Linked DNA regions of Homo sapiens: region 1 is linked to region 2. Evidence: promoter capture Hi-C in 16 types of primary human blood cells and fetal thymus (Javierre and others, 2016). All regions are on one chromosome and are shown on one strand. Each heading gives the region's core, a stretch centred on a gene start or on the middle of the fragment in contact. The rest is flanking DNA. Distances are from core to core; before and after follow the strand shown.

The links. Contacts are between HindIII fragments. The CHiCAGO score rates a contact against its expected background, and 5 or more counts as called.
Region 1: a contact is called between a fragment that was not itself captured here and the fragment with the promoter of GCM1 in region 2, in 17 of 17 cell types (activated CD4 T cells, total CD8 T cells, total B cells and 14 more). The highest score is 13.6, in activated CD4 T cells.

The regions. Positions count from the first base shown.
Region 1 is chr6:53,437,769-53,444,764 of GRCh38, forward strand. All of the region lies in intron 1 of GCLC-AS1 (GCLC antisense RNA 1), which reads left to right. Among named protein-coding and RNA genes, the nearest start is that of GCLC-AS1, 9.8 kb to the left of the region's middle. The HindIII fragment of the contact is 2,410 bases long and covers 1,790-4,199 here.
Region 2 is chr6:53,144,889-53,151,380 of GRCh38, forward strand. GCM1 (glial cells missing transcription factor 1) reads right to left here and starts at 3,953. Exons shown (of 6, transcript NM_003643.4): 1 at 3,866-3,953; 2 at 670-880. The coding sequence starts at 744. It also overlaps the pseudogene LOC124901513. The HindIII fragment of the contact is 12,096 bases long and covers 2,495-6,492 here.

The DNA.
Region 1 (6,996 bases), core at 1,745-4,244, 290 kb after region 2:
AGCGCTATCTAGTGGCACCAGGTGCAACAAGCAAAATGGGGCCAAGTTTTTGCCTGAGGCCTTACAAAAGTGTTGAAATCCTTGTGGAGAAAATTTTCTTTTTCTCAGGAGGGCAGTAGAATATCCTTAGAAGTGACTAGACTTATGACAGTAATGACATGAGGAAGAATATGTCACAAAGTTAACAGGAAGATTGACTCCAATCACAAGAAGTGAGGGCTGCAGAGGCCATGAAGGGATGGAAAACTTTTTCTTAGTTTTATCACTACTGGGTAATGGGCAGAGCCTGGGAGACAGAGAAGAGAACAGGCCGTATGGAGCACGCATCAACAACCCTGAGCTTCAGAGCACTTAGTACTGCAAGAAGAATGTGTAAGAAACTCTGGAACCCAGTTCCTGGGAGAGTGAGGGAACACCAGTGATTTCATTGGTATTAGGCTTGAAATATTGATTATTTTCTTTATTCCATATTTCACATTGTTATCCACATACCCCTTCTGACTACATACAGCACCAGGTGTAGGAAATGTGTGTTAGAAGATGATGTTTTTTGCCTTAACCATTGATTTTAATGATCATTTCATCCTCTCTGCTCTACCCTAAGTGGCCTTTCAGAGTCAATTGTGGCTTATTTCATAATTATCTTTTTCAGACTACTTCTGTACATTGGTACCACATCTGTAATGAACCATCGACTCATCTATTTCCCAATTCATTTGAATCTAGAATTTGGCAAGCCTTTCTTTTTTAGTGTGTTTTTTAATTTGACTCCGCATTTTTCTGTTTAGGTTGCACACTTGAAAAAAAGCTTTACCCCTTTTTTGAAAAGTTGGCAGACGTCTTTTTTTTTGAGACAGGGTCTCACTCTGTTGCTCAGGCTGGAGTGCAGTGGCGCGACCTTGGCTCACTGCAACCTCCACCTCCCGGGCTCAAGTGATCTTCCCACTTAGCCTTCTGGGTAGCTGGGACTACAGGCACGTGCCACCAGGCCCAGATAATTTTTTGTATTTTCTAGAGACAGGATTTCGCCATATTGTCCAGGCTGGTCTTAAACTCTTGAGCTCAAGCGATCCATCCGCCTCAGCCTCTTGAAGTACTGGGATTGCAGGTATGTGCCACCGTGCCCAGCCACAGACGTCTTAATGAAAATGAACCATTACAGTAATATACTAGGGCAAGGGCAATTTGTTCATTATCGACAAGCAAATCACTAAATTATGTAAATTACTGGATTAGACAGGCAGAATTACTTTTCTTTCAGAGAATAATCAAATATTACTTTAAAATGTTCATTTGTTTAAGTTTTTGGCTTTAGATCCAGAAAATCCAAATATTTGAATTTACATCTATTAAAAACCAAATTCAACCTCGAGACCGAAGTCCATCATTCATAGTCCACAGTAGAATATATGAAACCACGAAGATTTTTAATTTCCCTTAATAAACCTGTTTATTGAGCACTTCTATTTCCCCTCCTTCCCCCTATTTTTGTTTTAAAACATCCTTTCATGAAAGAACAATATTTAAATAAACCTTTGAGGAACAGATAGAGCTATTTAACAAGTGAGGTAATTATATATTATCATTCCCACATGATGGGGGTTTATAAAGGATTTAAAAGTTTGTTTCTGCATTTGTTTTCAAGGACTTGCCCAAGCACGGAAACTCCATATATATCAGCGACTAGGGAAAATTGATTCTAATAGATTTTTCTTCCAAGAACAGGAATCTTTCTATTTCATATTGCACATGAATATTAAGTAAACTACCTGCTGGAAACAGAAAAAAAAGCTTTACTCAAATATAAGTTGCTGATTTAAATAAACTGTTGTACTTTAAATAGAAAAAAACTCTAAATATAAATAATAAAGTAGCATTTCTAAGTGTAGCTACTAGGTTTATTACTGAGTTCTGCAGGGAACTGAATGACCTAACCCCAAATACCATCCTTTTATGACCAATTTGTGTGGACAGTTATAAATAGTGCAGTGAACTCTGCCTACAAGGCTGTAAGCCAAAAATTTTTGAGTGAATAAAGGGACTGCTGTTCTTTGTGAATAAGCAATTATTAAATGTTGTTTCTGAAACTGGAAGCTGAGTAAAGCAGTTTGTCAGTAGACAGTCTAATATAAAAGAAATTAATTTGATAAAAGTTCCCTCAAAAATGGCTTATGTACTTTGTACACTATGTATGGATCTATTTACACATGTAAAAATTACTTCCATGTAGACATAGCATTGATATATTTATTTATTAAAATTTCTTCATTAGAATAAATTATATAGCGTCAAAACTTTGGCAACATTTTAGTGTAAGAACTGTTTGTGCTCTTAAAAAACTATTCTGTTTATAACTATAATACATATTCACTGGAGAACGTGCAACAATAAATGCATACTGACTAAAAGAAGAATGAAAACTATTCAAACTCTTACCTTCTAGAAGCAATCAAGTGTAACTTACCTCCAAAGTTATGACTCGCAGCTCTTTCCTAGTTAGTGAATATAGGTGTACATCACCATTTTAAATTGCTGCTGTTGGCATAATTGATTTTTAAAACCAACTTTCAAAACCAACTTGTATAAGCCCAGATTTTAACTGGGACATGCAATTCTAGGGCAGCAAGAGTGGAGGAAAAGATACAGGGAATAGTGGCAGAGAAGGAGCAACACCATGCAATGTGTTTTGCTTCCTGATGACACTCTCAGAGGCAAAGTCTGTTAGCGGGGGCACTTCCTGGATCAGGCACTATGTGCTCAGAAAGGCCGTATGGAGAAATCCTATCTTGGAACAGTCTTTTAAAGGAAAGAAGGGGAAGGTATTTATCTGCTGCCTCCTTTTGACTTCTTTCTTCCACTGGTCAAATTTTGTCTCATGAGGAAGTTTACTCCCTCACATCACTCAGCATCTTTGGGAGTCACTTGCCAAACCACATCCCATGTCCTGAAATGAGATTCTCTATCTAAATTTGGAAGTGACAGGAAGGACCAGAGACTGTAAATGTGTAGCTGACGGCCCCAGGAGGTAGATTTTTATAGGTCTACACCTAGCAGGTCAGTCATAGCAAGTGCTTAGGTAAAACAAAGCAAACCAGGGTCAATGAGACAGCTAAGAAAACCTGTGGAGGCAAATAAGATATGTACTGAAGAAATAATTTAGGTTATTTTCCACAATAACTAAGGCTGCAGTGAGAATCTTTTTGCATATATCTTGTGTACTTCTATGTGTATGGTCTTAGAATAAATTTCCAGGAGATATATTACTGAGTCAAAAGTTACAATTACTGTAACTGTGATACACTTGAAAAATTGCCCTCTAGAAAGGTTAGACCAATTTTATTCCATCCAACAGTCACAAGAATACTCATTTCCTCATGAACTTGCCAACGCTGTAATTTGTGTCAGTCAGTGTTTGTGAGATTATGCTGCAGTAACTAATGACCTGGCAAATGGCAGTGGCTTACAACCAACATTTTTTTCCTTTTCACATATGTTAGCTGCAGATTGACTTAAGCTCTTCTCCATGTGCCATTGATCTCAGGGCTCAGACTAAAGGAGCAGCCCCATCTCAGTCTGATGCCAAAGGAAGCAGAGGGATAATGAAACTCCAGAATGACTCTTAAAAATTCTCTGCTCAGAAATGACACATATCACACTTGCTTACATTTCACTGGTCAGAGCAAGTCATACTGCAAAGGCTGATTTCAGTGAAGCAGAGAGTTATAATCCTTGAAAAGGAAGAGGCAGTGAATAACTGGTAAAAAATATAATCTACCACATTATCTTTGCCAATGAAATGTGGGAATGGAATAATATAATTATTTTAAATGTACACTTCTTTGATTACTAGTTAGGTTGAAACATTTTTGTATGCTTATTGGCAATTCATTTTTCTTCTTTTGGAAATTGTTCTTGCCTTTTGCCCATTTTCTGACTGAATGCTTTCTTATTAATTTGTAAGACTTTTTGCATATGAAAGATGTATATATTTCCTTCATTCAATTTAAATAATGATGTTTTTCCAAAGACAAATTTTTAAATGCATGTGGTCAAATACATGTTTTTTTTTTTAAAAAATGGTTTTCTATTTCATTTCTTGCCTTAGTGTAGAAGAATGTTACATTAATGTTTCCCAATGAATCATGCCTCCAAGCATCCATGCCCTTTTGTGGTCCCCTCCCACTGCAACTTGGCCATGAAGCTTTCTTTGGCCAAAGAGAAATTAGCAAAGCATGATGCAAGGAAAAAGCTTGATAAGCACTTACACGTTGAAACTTACACACTGAAACTTACACCTTGAAACGTCTCCTCTTGGAATGCTCTATCACCGAGACTTGAGCCAACATCTAAAGAGGTCCAGACATGTTGAGACTCCATGCTATGAGAGAAAGAGGGGCATATCTGACTAGGTCGCAGCTTTTCCAGCCCTCCTCGTGGAGGCACCAGACATGTGAATGAAACCATTGAGATTTCCACACCTGAGTTGAGTGACCACTGGCAACACCAGCAAAGTGCTTCCCACTAGAGGCCAGTCCAGTTGCAGAATCGTGGTTACAAATATGGTGGTTGTTTTGAGCCATGAAGTTTTTGCTTAATCAATAGCTGAAATGCTTAGTGTCCTCCTTTTCTCAAGAATTTAAAATGTTCACCTGTAGTTACTTTGCTGGTTTTATAGTTGTTTTGGGTAAACATTCAGCTTTGTCCATTTGAAATAAATTCTTGGGTAAGGAGTGGAGTGAGAATTTAATGACAGTTACTGTTATTACTTCCATTTCGCAAATGAAGAAACTAAGGCTTAGGCTTAGTGAAGTTAAGTGACTTGTCTAAAACCAGACAATAAGAAGCAGATCAAGATTCTTACAGTCTGACCCCAGAGCTCGAGCTCTTACCCCTATACTGTGGACCTGGAGCCCAGGCAAGGGCAAGGGGTCTGCCCTGCCCCTCATCAATAGCTGCACATCACTTCACAAACAAGCATCTTCACACTTGCTCTGTGTCTTTTATAAAATATGGTAATTAGAAAGATTGCTTTTAAATATTTTTACCCTGATTTATTTTTATCCTAAAAATAGGATCTATTTTTACCCTACTTTCAAAAACAGGCTATACTTCTATTGGAATTTAGCGCATGTGGTAGAGACACTGCCAGATTAGAAGGAACCTGATTTAGCATTTGGGTTCAAGGTGAAGACTTGGTTTGGGATGAGTGAGTGTTTGAACAAGAGGAAAGAAGGAACTACTCCCAGTGATTTCTCCAGGTTTTTGTGTCAAAGGAGCATCTAGGATATGGGATTCTGTCCTTTCAGTGATGTTGTTGGTGGAGGAGGAAAGTTTGATGGGGAAAGTTAGCTTTAAGCATATGTGCCATCTCCAGCAGGTGTTGGTATTCATACCATACACTCCTGACTCCCACCAGGAGGCTTGTGGTGACAGGCTGCAAGCTACATGATTCCCGGGGTGGTCAGAGGTGTCAGGGAGTCTCCTTCCAATAGTCAGTTCTTGAGATCATTGGTATTGAAATCCAGCTTGAGGTCAAGAAAGAAGGTGTGTCGCAGGCTCAATTAGTCCCTAAAACATAATCACGGAAATACAGATCCTGAGGGGGTTGCTTCTTAATGAAAGATAGCTAGAGAGGCTGGATTAAGACACAGATTGAGGCTGGGCATGGTGGCTCACGCCTGTAATCCCAGCACTTTGGGAGGCCGAGCAGGCGGATCACCTGAGGTTGGGAGTTCGAGACCAGCCTGACCAATATGGAGAAACCCCATCTCTACTAAAAACACAGAATTAGCCAGGCATGGTGGCGCATGCCTGTAATCCCAGATATTTGGGAGTCTGAGCAGGAGAATCACTTGAAGCCGGGAGGCGGAGGTTGCGGTGAGCCGAGATTGCGCCATTGCACTCCAGCCTGGGCAAAAAGAGTGAAACTCCATCTAAAAAAAAAAAAAAAAAAAAAAAAGACACAGATTGAACGTACATGAGTTTCCCCTTGGGTTCATTCTATGAAGTCACAGGGGAAAGTGTATCTATATCTACATCTACAATGTCTATAGATATCTCCATCAAATGCCGGAAACCAAAAGAACACCGTGAACAGACCCACAGTTCTGAAGAATTATCAAATGTGTAAACCAGAGGGAAATGCTTTCAATTCAGGTGGTTAATTAAGCACAAACATTTATCTACTCTTCCTACTGAGACTCCCATTAAAATGATGATAAACAAAATTTTTTTAAAAAGTATAAGCCCACAACAAGATAGGGCACACCCAGAAAGCAAATATTTAATAATAAAGATGAGTCAAGGAAATTAACACTAACATAAATACAAGAGGCAGTTGATCTACCCAGCAGACTACATAGAACTTCCAGATTCAAAAGTCTGAGTTGACAGGTGGGGTGGAAATCAATGGGACTGATTGAAGATTCAGATACAGATTATGTGGCTCCACATACCTACCCTTTCTCCTTCATCAACCTCAACAGCAACTGGGTATTCATTCCTTGGTCAAAAGTGGACTGGAAGGATTTTTCCTTAAGTAATAGAACAAATCAACGGGGATAAACTGGGGCAGCTAGTGTGGACTTGATATTCCCGATAAAGTCCTTCTCATTCTGGCATTCAGGGTACCCCAGGCTCTCATCCACTCACTTTAAAGTGAAGCCAATGGGAATAGGCTGTTTCACTCCTTCCCACTCTGCAGGTGAAAGAGTCTTGTAATAGGACAGTCACCTATATCCCAGAAGAGGAGGTGGAACCCAGATACTATAACAACTGTAAAAAAATCTCAGGTGAGAACAATTGTCCTTCACTACCCCAAATATCATTCTTTAGATGATAGAAAATGAGAGTGGGCTATCAATATGTAGATTCAGGGAAGCAAAATACTGTTAAATATAGTGAAAAGAACATAAAGAAATCACATATATTATGTAAGAACAAATGGAATTATCTAGCAGAGCTTCCAAGCATTAGCAAAATGAAAGAAAATACATG
Region 2 (6,492 bases), core at 2,703-5,202:
TAGTTGACAGAGCCAGACCCTACCTCAAAAAAAAAAAAAAAAAAGTAGAGGAAGAAGAAAGAAAAGAAAAGAAAGAAAGAAAGAAAATGAAAAGAAAGAGAGAGAGAAAGAAAGAAAAAAAGAAAGAAAGAAAAAAGGAAGAAGGCAGGAAGGCAAGGCAAGGCGAAGGAAAGGGAAGAAAGAAGAGGAAAAAGAAAAAAGGAAGAAGAGCATGCTGTATTCCACAAGAGAACAATATCATCTGGATTCCAGCACATTCCATTTAGACATGAATCTGAGTTAAAACTATCACTATAGCAAATAAGGTTGTATGAGGACTTGTGCATAACAAAGAGTCAATTTATGGCCAAATAAATCATCACGGATTTTATCATACTGTCTAGCCAGAGTGAGTGCAACCTGAGTTACGCCAACTTTGAAAGAGAAGGGAAGTAGAAATTTCTTTGCATCAGTCTCTAAGTGTGGGAGTCTGGTAAGTAAAGACACACTCAAATCATAGGTCTTGCCATCTCTTCTTAAAATCCCTCAGTCGGCTGTCTAGCTGAAACTCTAGGGGAGAGGAATTTACCCAGCTGGAATCCTCACCAATTTCCTTCCAGGTCTCCGCATGTTAATAGTCAAGACTTCACAGCCCAATGTTGAAGGCAGATTTTTATAGCAAGTACATACCTGTGGCAGTTTCACATCATTAATATCCCAGCTTAATATCTCTTTGTCTTCAGAATCAAAGTCGTCAGGTTCCATGATAAGGTCAGGCCAGCCAAGGTTTTCACCTATTCGACTCCCCTCAGAAATGCTTGAGAATTTTGTTCTCAAAGGTTCTTGATATAGCTGGATCGGCCCACTCAAGCACCTTGGACCAGGAGATTGTTTTCTAGGGCTAAAAAAATAAGTTATATTAGTATTGGCCATTAAAGAGATTTAAAAAAAAACCCCAATGCTCCTCTGCCAGAAAAACCTGTTTCACTGACATTTTTGCAAGTACCAACATACTAGTAAAAAACAAAACATAGGAGCCATAAGTGATTTTACTTAAAACTTGGCCATCGGGAATTAGAAGCGTGTGATCACTGCTTTCACCCTTGGGTTTGGGCTTGCTTTCTCATTGCAAGATCCAGGTTGTGAAGGCCTTAGCAGAGACAGTTGTCATCTGTAACCAATGGCTAGGACTTTTCCTGCTAGGGCAGGAGGATACTGGCTTGGAGTTGTTTCCATAGAAATGCCTTTATAAATTAGCTAATGTGTGGTTGAAGCTGCAAGAGGGGAACATCACACTGAATTTATCTAGGAAAATACATATATGTTTTATATATATATATATATATATATTTTTTTTTTTTTTTTTTTTTGAGATGGAGTCTCACTTCTTCACCCAGGCTGGAGTGCAATGGAGTGATCTCGGCTTACTGCAACCTCTGCCTCTTGGGTTCAAGCAACTCTCCTGCCTCAGCCTCCCCAGTAGCTGGGATTACAGGCATGTGCCACCACGCACAGCTGATTTTTGTATTTTTAGTAGAGATGGGGTTTCACTCTGCTGGCCAGCCTGGTCTCGAACTCCTGACCTCAAGTGATCTACCCGCCTCGGACTCCCAAAGTGTTGGGATTACAGGCGTGAGCCACCGCACCCGGCCAGAAAAAAAATATATTTGAAAATCCAAATCACTGTAAGGATTAGGTTTGGTCTCTGCAATAAATCCTGTGCGCACGATATATCTTCAAATATTATCAACTAATATGCTTATATCTGATTAATCTGAAACAGGGTTTCTTAAGTTTGGCACTATTGACATTTTGGACCAGATAATTCTTTGTTGTGGGGAGCTTTTTTCATGTTGTAGACTGTTTGGCAGCATCCCTGGTCTCTACCCATTAGGTGCTAGCAGCCTGTAATCCCAATACTTTGGGAGGCCAAGACACATGTATCACTTAAGTCTATGAGTTCAAGACCAGCCTGAGAAACATGCAGAAACCGTGTTTATACAAGAAGTACAAATCACTAGCTGGGCATGGTGGTGCACACCTGTAGTCCCAGCTACTTTGGGAGGCTGAGGTGGAGGATTACCCGAGCCCAGGAGGTTGAGGCTGCAGTGAGCCAAGATTGTGTCACTGCATGCCAGCCTGGGTGACAGAGTGAGACCTTGTCTCAAAAAATAAATAAATGAATGAATGAATAAATAAATAAATGAATGAATAAATAAAAGTTTGTTCAAATGGCATTTCTTCCCTCACGAGAAATAGTGCTCTAATTTCTAACTATAATTGGTTAAAGGAGGTTTACCAAGAAAAAAAGAAAGAAAATTTGAAGTGTTCTACCCTGAGGAAAAAAATGAATAATTTTGCAGATGAAAGCTACTTGTTAGTACGATATGAAGTGAAACATGTTCACATGTATAACATTTCATTTATTGGTACTCTTATAAAAACAAGAGACATAATGATGTTATGTAGAGCTATTTAATAGCGAACTCAAACTATAAGGTAGATTAATAGTCTAAGCTTTGGCGAGACCCATGAACTCTTTTCTTTAGTTTTTATTGTTTTTTTTTTTTTTTTTTTTTTAATGGAGTCTTACTCTTATCACCCAGGCTGGAGTGCAGTGGCGCAATCTCAGCTCACCATAGCCTCCACCTCTGGGGCTCCAGTGATTCTTTTACCTCAGCCTCCCAAGTAGCTGGGATTACAGGCACGCACCACCACACCCAGCTAATTTTTGTATTTTCAGTAGAGATGGGGTTTCACCATGTTGACCAGGCCGGTCTTGAACTCCTTTCCTCAGGTGATCCATACGTCTCTGTCTCCCAAAGTGCTGGGATTACAGGCATGAGCCACTGTGCCCGGCCTGTTCTTTAGTTATTTAGTGTTATATAATCCTAATACTTGTCAATCACTGAACTCTACCAAGGGAAAGTGTATGTATATAAAAGACCGTTGACCTGAACATAAGAATGAAGTTCCTTTTTTCTTTTTTGTGTGTGCTCTAGATGTCCAGAGAAATTTCTCTAGTAACAAACTATAGAAATGATCCCTGAAAGTATAGTCTTTATAAATAAAGTTCTTGACCATTAAATGACAAGCTAATCAGAGTCTCTTCCTGTCTGTTCCACATACCCATACTGAGCTACAACCTAGTGGTTGCAGAGCACGAAGTTTCTGTTCCCCAACTGAATGTTGATTTTCAAGACTAAATCCTCATGGATTTTAAGTAAAATTCTATGTTTAGGAAAGAAACATTGTGTTACTGAAGAAATGATGCCGCAAATTGACTCTAATTCAAAGGACTTAAATAACAGGTATAGAAGATGCAGATACCAAGCAGCAGTTCCGTGTACTTACCCTGAACAGTAACGATATTGTCTCTGATGGTGCAAATTTTGTTATAACTAATTGGAATAGATCTACTTTTTAAAAACCTTGGCAAATAAGATTCATATTTTCAAAAATCAAAAACATTGTTATAAAGCCTAGGCAATATAGACATAATTATTTTGTTTTTAAATTAAGGGAAGAATAATAAAGAAAATTTTATTACAGAACAACTATGTTACATTTTAGATTTTTCTCTCGATATTAACATTTGCTAAGCGAATGAGCATTAATTTAATATTTCCCTAAAAGTTAAGAACAAAACATAGAAAAGAAGAAAAAACCATTTTACAGCCCTTAAGTAAACTCTGTTTTCCTCTTCTAGGATTGAAAAACTACACTTGTCAAGACTCCTTTTTTTAAAGCAACTTGCGCAAAGTATATTCAATTTTCATCATTTCTACAGAAAAATGAACTAGAACAAATGAAACCCTGTAGGAATAGAGTGGTCGTTGCCACATCCCTTACATTTGCCTCTCCACGGGATTTCTGGCTTTCTTACCTTCTAACTTCTTACGGAGAAGCAGACAGCACTGTGTCGTGAAAATCTTACTGCTGGTTCAAGTCCCAGCAGGCTCTGGTCATTTTCTGAGCAGACGCTGTTCCCTATTCCAGGTCAGGGTACACTATGCTAATGAGTTCTGGCAATGGTCCAATCAAAATCTAGATGCTCTAGGCTCTGGATAGGTAAGAGCAGCCTGGGAGTCACTTAACCAGCCTGATTCTTCCCAGAATGCCAGCAATGTGATGAATATTCTATGATGTGTCTCTGAACTTCCCCCTCCCTTTATGTTATGAGGACATTTGAACTAAAATGGACATTGAAAAGAACCTCATAAGGAAGTACAGATGTTTTTCTTCTTGTGATGTTACAGGTTGGGCCCCAGGCAGACGATTCACAGTAGGTCCTAATTCTCCCACTATTTACCCGGCAGGTAATAGTTCTCTCTCATGTGTGCAAGAGAGAGAAGACAGACAGACAGAGATAGAGAGATATTATGGTGAGGAAATTTACTGGAATAGACAGTGGATAGCCAACATCCTCTATACCAGAAATACTGAAATGCTATCTTAACCCTAGCAATAATGTCCCACTAATTCTAAGTGTTCTGATCCCCTAAAAATATACAATTCTTGGCCGGGCGTGGTGGCTCACACCTGTAATCCTAGCACTTTGGGAGGCCGATGTGGGCGGATCACAAGGTTGGGAGTTCAAAACCAGCCTGGCCAAGATGGTGAAACCCCGTCTCTACTAGAAATACAAAAATTAGCCAGGTGTGGTGGCGAGCGCCTGTAATCCCAGCTATTTGGGAGACTGAGGCAGAGAATTGCTTGAACCCGGGAAGCGGAGGTTGCGTGAGCTGAGATTGCGTCACTGCAGTCAAGCCTGGGTGACAGAGCGAGGCTCCATCTCAAAAAAACAAAAACAAAACAAAACAAAACAACAAAAAAAAACGAACAAACAAAAACCAATTATTTCTTCTAGAGATACCCTCAGTGCTATTCTTCCTTTTAGAGACATCCGCAGTACAGCCTAAATCAGTTCAGTTCATATGTTTTGTTCTAGGTAGTCTGCCAGGCCTTGGCAACACAAGAGAGAATGAAAGCCATTAAGAAGTTCATTCTAGTAGAAAAGATGATTAAAGCTACTAAATAAGGCCGATTTAATTTGATGTATAGAATAAAAGTAATATAAATGAGAAGGCTATTAAGCTGGAGGGAGGAGAACCAAAGGAAACCCACCAAAATAATGCTCGATGAGCCTTTTGAAGGACAAATAGATATTTATCAAGGCGTGAAGGACTGGAAGAGGGTGTTTCGGGGAGTGACAATATCCTGGACAACATGACGAGGGATCAGTACCTGTCAGGAAGGTCCAGACTTTCAAGGATGAGGCTTAGGAGGCAGAGATGAGAAGGCGAGAAGGCAAAAGGCTTGGAAAGCCTCATAGTTGCATTCGGCGGCCCCTAATAGATTTCTCATTCGTCTTTCAGTTCATGAACAAATTCCTTTCCTGCCTGAAGTTTAAGACCCTGCTTCATCTTTTTTTTTTTTTGAAACGGAGTTTTGCTCTTGTTGCCCAGGCTGGAGTGTAATTGCACTATCTCGGCTCACCACAACCTCTGCCTCCCGAGTTCAGGCGATTCTCCTGCCTCAGCCTCCTGAGTAGCTGGGATTACAGGCGCACACCACCACGCTCGGCTAATTTTGTATTTTTAGTAGAGATGGGGTTTCTCCATGTTGGTCAGGCTAGTCTTGAATTCCCGAACTCAGGTGATCCACCCGCCTCGGCCTCCCAAAGTGCTGGGATTACAGGCGTTAGCCACCACGCCTGACCAACCCTGCTTGATCTTATTGTACTTTATCTGGCCAGTCTTGGTCTCCTCTCTGTAATCCCTTTGTTGGTCAGGAGGACATTTCTCCATCCATCAGATACATTGTATCAGGACAAAGCCTAAAATTATGCCAGCTGGTGAAAGAGGATGTCTACAGGGTCTAGGTCCAGAATCACAAGCGGAGTAAAGAGTGGATTTAGTGTCGACAGGCAATAAGTCAATCACTGGCACACCTGTTGTGCTTATTCACTTACTTAGGTCTATTCTCTAGTGTATTTTTCACATCCATATATCTGAACCCTGTCTACCCTTCAGGATCCCCAAAATGCCACCTCCTTATGAGAGCTTCCCACACTATTCAAGAACACATGATTCCTCATTTCTGTGATGCTCTTTTGTTTCTTTTTTGAGACAAGGTCTTACTCTGTCACCCAGGCTGGAGCACAGTGGTGTGATTATGGCTCACTATGGTCTCGCTTTCCTGGGCTCAAGTGATCCTCCCGCCTCAGCATCCCAAGTAGCTGGGGCTACAGGTGCTCACCACCACGTCCCGCTAATTTTTGTATTTTTTGTAAAGATGGGACTTCACCATGTTGTCTAGGCTGGTCTTGAATTCCTGGGCTCAAGAAATCGCCTGCCTTGGCCTCCCAAATTGCCGGAACTACAGGTATGAGCCACGGTGCCTGGCCATGTTGAACTCTTAACTGTGAATTATATGCTGTCTTGTATCACTTGGATCTAACAGTGTTTTTAAATTACAAAATAAATTCATGATTTATAAAAAAGTCATATT